2 separate regions of the Homo sapiens genome follow, and region 2 is linked to region 1. Evidence: promoter capture Hi-C in 16 types of primary human blood cells and fetal thymus (Javierre and others, 2016). All regions are on one chromosome and are shown on one strand. The core of a region is centred on a gene start or on the middle of the fragment in contact, and the rest is flanking DNA. Distances in the headings are between cores, read along the strand shown.

Region 1 (2,700 bases), core at 8-2,507:
ACATTATTTCACAGGTCTATGGACCTGAGATCATAAAATTCATTTTTCAGAGTCAAGACGACTTTTCCAGGGTCACACGGCCAGGTACGGGCTGGACTGGGGTTTGAACCCATCTCTGTCAGACTCCAGAGCCCGGGCTTCCAGCCATTCCCAACTCTTTTTGCTCAAATGCACCAATCCCACTCTGGCCACATAGCCCTTGAACGTGCTGTGCTTGTTTTGTGTGTTGCCCAGGCAGGTCTCAAACTCTTGGCCTCAAACGATCCTCCCAAAGTGCTGAGATTACAGGCCTGAGCTGCCTTGACCGCCTTTCTATTTCCTCCTGGGGGGATGGGAGCACCAAGGAGATTCCAGCAAAAGGATACACCCACTCCAGCTTGAGCCGGCAAGAAGGCAGCTCCGAGCGTGTGTCCAGGCTGTAGGTGGGTGCCAGCTCGTCTGGGATCATCATGGGCACAGGGCGGCCCCTCAGGAACATTTTCACGGAGCCATCCTCTGCCAGGACACCCCCAGAGGTCAGGCACTGACACCAGCCCCATCCCTATTCCCTCTCCTCTTCCAGCTTTATTTATTTATTTTTTTAAAGGCAGGGAAACTGAGGCCAGAGAGGCAAAGACCCAGTAGCCAAGACTCCTGACCTCTGGCTCCAGCCTGTCACCCCAACAAGCAAGCTTCCACCGAGCCCTTCCCCATCTCCCCACTCACCCACACTGAAGATAACTTCTTTGGTTTTGCTGTCAGGAAAGGACAAAGAAAAAAAAAGGGTCTTAGTATTCAGTTCAGAAAAGGGGAGAAACCATTCCTCCACCCCCACCGCTCCCCGGAGGTCTCCGATGAAAACGGGGCCGAGTAAGGGGCAGAGCGCTGCCTCTCTGCAGGCCGTGTGCTTTGCTCGGTTGATCTTGCAGAGCCTAAGACACAGGCCCAGAGAGGCAGTGATCGCCAAAGATCACACAGCACGAAGTGGCAGGGACGCGATCCTGGAAGAAGGGAGTCACCAAGGACCCTTCCCTCCTAATCAGCAAGGTGCTCCCCAGCGCCCCCCACCCGCAGTTCCCCCAGCACACCAAACGTCAAGCAGAGGGAGAAACGGGGAGAGTTTAAGGGAAGGGGCGTGTCCCCACGCCGGTCTGGGTCCCAGGGGTTGGGTGAAACCTGAGATCTAAGCCCCGGGAGCGCGGAGAGGAGATGGGGGGTGGTCTGCGAAAGGGTCTCACCCAGCTCCAAAGCTACTCATGGCGGCGGGTGGCGGAGCTTCGGGGCCGGGGGTGGAGCCGGGACCGGCTCTGCCGCTTCCGGCCCTGGGAGGCGCCCGGGCCGCCGCGCCCCTGCCCCGCCCTCCACAGCCACCCCTGGAGCCGGAGGGTCCCACCGGGTCACACATCCCGGGCTGTGGACTCCCGATCCCAGGTTCTTTCGGGGTGGGTGGGGGAGAGTGGTTGAGAACATGGACTCGGGAGCGCGCCTGCTTGAGTTAAAACCCCAGTTCTGCTAATTCCTAGCAGTGTACACAGGTCGTCCAACCTCTGCCTCGGTTTCCTCATTTAAAAAATGGGGATAATAAGAGTACCCGGCCGGGCGCGGTGGCTCATGCCTGTAATCCCAGCACTTTGGGAGGCCGAGGCGGGCAGATCACCTGAGGTCAGGAGTTCAAGACCAGCCTGGCCAACGTGGTGAAACCCCGTCTCTACTAAAAATACAAAACTTAGCCTGGCGTGGTGGCTGGCGCCTGTAATCCCAGCTACTTGGGAGGCTGAGGCAGGAAAATCATTCGAACTCGGGAGGCAGAGGTTACAGTGAGCTGAGATTGTGTCATTGCACTCCAGCCTGGGCAACGAGAACAAGACTCCGTCTCAAAATAAATAAATAAATAAGAGTACTCACACCTCCCGGGGGTAGTTGCGAGGGTGAAATTGGTTAATTATTGGGAAGTGCCTGGAGTATACACAACGCTGTATTTGTGTTTGCTATGTTTGAGCAGAGTTGAAATGTGCAGCTTTTGACCTTGGTCTTGCCCTTGCGTGGCCTCCTAGCGCTGACCACGCCCACTGCACCATAACTCCAGCCTTAGGGTGATTTTTGTTTTGTTTTGTTTTTGATACAGGGTGTGGCTCTGTCGACCAAACTGGAGTGCAATGGCGTGATCATGGCTCACTGAAACCTCGAATTTCCTAGGCTTAAGTGAGCCTCCTGCCGCAGCCTCCCAAGTAGCTGGGTCTACAAGCGAAGGCCAGCACGCCCGGCTATTTTCTTTCTCTCTCTTTTTTTTTTTGTTTTTTGTTTTTTGTTTTTTGTTTGTTTGTTTAACGGAGTCTTGCTCTGTCAGCAGGCTGGAGTGCAGTGGCGCGATCTCAGCTCACTGCAACCTCCGCCTCCCGGGTTGAAGTGATTCTCCTGCCTCAGCCTCCCGAGTAGCTGGGACTACAGGCACGCGCCACCACGCCCATTTTTGTATTATTAATAGACAGGGGGTTTCACCATGTTGGCCAGGATGGTCTCGATCTCTTGACCTTGTGATCCACCCGCCTAGGCCTCCCGAAGTGCTGGGATTACAGGCGTGAGCCACCGCGCCAGGCCTAATTTATTTTCATTTTTAGTAAAGACGAGGGCTCGCTATTTTGCCCAGCCTGGTCTCGAACTCCTGAGCTCAAGCGATGATTCCCGCCTCCGCCTCCCAAACTGCTAGAATTATATAGCCTT
Region 2 (2,700 bases), core at 187-2,686, 170 kb before region 1:
GACGTGGTGGCCCGCGCCTGTAGTCCAGCAACTCGAGAGGCTAAGGTGAGGCGGAGGTTGCAGTGAGCCGAGATCGCCACTGCACTCCAGCCTGGCGGCAGAGCAAGACTCCGTCTCAAAAAAAAAAAAAAAAAAAAAAAAAAAAAGACCTGACAAGTGAAAGCTACTAATATTGCCATTATCATTTAAAAAAACCCCAGACACAGGTTTTTCAGGGAGTTTCATCCAACCAGGCAGGTCTCAGAAATCAGAAAAGAAATGGAAAGGGTAGGAAATCTGGAGTTTGACAATTCTGAGTTTGAATTTCTTGTGATGGGATCTTGGGCAAGTCATTTAACCTCCCTGAGTATCATTTTTTTCTTTTATAAAATGAAGATTTTTCTCTCTTAACCTTCCAGAGCTGTTTTAAGGATTACAAATCTTCTACTGAAAGGCGTAGCACAGGAGCTGTGCTTGGCAAGTGCCAAATACAAGGCATTAATTATTATTATTAGAATTAATAATAATATCCCCTCCCTCTTACACATTCTTTGTCTCCGGGTGGATTAAAAGGTGGAAGGAGAGGCTACCAACACCATCAGAAGAGAGGCTTCTCTCTAAGTTTCATTTCCCATCTCCTCCAAATCCGCATCCCTCCCAAACGCCGGACCTGTAAGGCCAGCAGGGTCCAAGACACACATCCTTTGCCCAGCGGGGAAGATTAAAGCTAAAGCTCAGAGAGGGAAAACATTTCCTAAGCTCGCACAGCGAATCAGGACAGAAACCAGGACGAGCCTCGGAATCCCTCCATTACCTCCACTTTCACCTGAGCATCACAGCCCGCTCGGGACTCAGTTTCCCCACCTACGTGACCACACCACACTAATCAGGGTCTCCTTTTGGAGATCTGCTCTTCTTCTCGAATGGGGGCGCTGCACCATCGGTAGAACAGGGTAGGTGGGGGCGCCAGAGGTGAAGGGGACCTGCAGGCTGGGGTCTTCCCCGCCCGGGTCAGCGGGGTCCCTGCGGGGCTAGTCTAAGCGCCTATTATTACCAGCCCCCGGGGCGGCGTTGCACTGCGCAGGCGCGGGCGGGGCGCGGGCGCGCGCGCGAGCGAGCGAGGGATTCCCTCTGACGTCATTGCTAGGATACCAAACAAACACTCCGCCGCGCCGGCCGAGCTCCTTATATGGCTAATTGCGTCACAGGAACTCCGGGAAGGCGGGGCCGGGATCCCCTCCCGCCGAGTGGCCCGGAACGCAACCCCCGAGACCCCCAGGGCCCCGAGGGTCATGCAAGTGACCAGATCGAGTCTAGAACAGACCTCTTGCTGGACAGTGCGGGACTCGATTTGGCGGGGCCGGAGATTTGGGGAAGTTTGTCCAGCAAGGGGCGGGTGACGTAAGCAGGGGGGCGGGTCCCGGGCATATAAATACAGGCTGGCGGGTCTGTGCTTCATTCATAAGACTCAGAGCTACGGCCACGGCAGGGACACGCGGAACCAAGACTTGGAAACTTGATTGTTGTGGTTCTTCTTGGGGGTTATGAAATTTCATTAATCTTTTTTTTTCCGGGGAGAAAGTTTTTGGAAAGATTCTTCCAGATATTTCTTCATTTTCTTTTGGAGGACCGACTTACTTTTTTTGGTCTTCTTTATTACTCCCCTCCCCCCGTGGGACCCGCCGGACGCGTGGAGGAGACCGTAGCTGAAGCTGATTCTGTACAGCGGGACAGCGCTTTCTGCCCCTGGGGGAGCAACCCCTCCCTCGCCCCTGGGTCCTACGGAGCCTGCACTTTCAAGAGGTACAGCGGCATCCTGTGGGGGCCTGGGCACCGCAGGAAGACTGCACAGAAACTTTGCCATTGTTGGAACGGGACGTTGCTCCTTCCCCGAGCTTCCCCGGACAGCGTACTTTGAGGACTCGCTCAGCTCACCGGGGACTCCCACGGCTCACCCCGGACTTGCACCTTACTTCCCCAACCCGGCCATAGCCTTGGCTTCCCGGCGACCTCAGCGTGGTCACAGGGGCCCCCCTGTGCCCAGGGAAATGTTTCAGGCTTTCCCCGGAGACTACGACTCCGGCTCCCGGTGCAGCTCCTCACCCTCTGCCGAGTCTCAATATCTGTCTTCGGTGGACTCCTTCGGCAGTCCACCCACCGCCGCCGCCTCCCAGGTAAGTTTTTGATAGTAGGGGTGCTGCTTTGTAGGTTTTATTTTTTAAGTCAAGGGTGAAAAGAATAAACCCCAACCCCCACAAAAAGGCGCATCAGAACCCTAGATCTGAGATGGAAAAGGCTCACAGCGCACTTTGCAAACTGCAAAGAGTCGGGAGATGTTTGCAATTGGTTGCGTGCGTGGAGCGCAAGGAGGGAACGCGGCAGGGAGGGTAGGCTTTGGGGCGAGGTGGGGGTGGGGTGGGTAATGCGCTGCTCAATGCAACGTGTATGCGGTAGCGGGGCTGAGAACTTTGAGCCGGCCCCGGGACTGCCCCCTGCTCGGGTCCCAGACCTGAAGCTAGCGCAGTTAGGCAGGTGGGGGAAATCCCGGGGAAGCTTCCAGCAGTCTCTTTTCCTTTCCTCCTCCTTCGGAGCGCCCACTTCGGTGCCGGGTCGCCCTCCACCCATCGGGAAGAGGGGCCTCGAACCCTCAGCCGCGCTGCCTCCGCCTCCTGCGCGGAGACGTAACGGGGGACCCGTGCGTAACGGCTGACGCGCTGGAAT

The links. Contacts are between HindIII fragments. The CHiCAGO score rates a contact against its expected background, and 5 or more counts as called.
Region 2: a contact is called between the fragment with the promoter of FOSB here and the fragment with the promoter of EML2 in region 1, in 14 of 17 cell types (erythroblasts, fetal thymus, endothelial precursors and 11 more). The highest score is 11.1, in erythroblasts.

The regions. Positions count from the first base shown.
Region 1 is chr19:45,638,140-45,640,839 of GRCh38, forward strand. EML2 (EMAP like 2) reads right to left here and starts at 1,258. Exons shown (of 19, transcript NM_012155.4): 1 at 1,218-1,258; 2 at 706-734; 3 at 366-495. The coding sequence starts at 1,237. It overlaps MIR330 (microRNA 330), which reads right to left and starts at 948; the gene lies at 855-948. RefSeq lists enhancers at 84-935, 172-466, 936-1,787 and silencers at 172-466, 1,163-1,442, 1,463-1,552. The HindIII fragment of the contact is 2,349 bases long and covers 670-2,700 here.
Region 2 is chr19:45,466,560-45,469,259 of GRCh38, forward strand. It overlaps FOSB (FosB proto-oncogene, AP-1 transcription factor subunit), which reads left to right and starts at 1,437. Exons shown (of 4, transcript NM_006732.3): 1 at 1,437-2,153. The coding sequence starts at 2,028. RefSeq lists a silencer at 1,074-1,353 and an enhancer at 1,538-2,439. The HindIII fragment of the contact is 2,687 bases long and covers 1-2,530 here.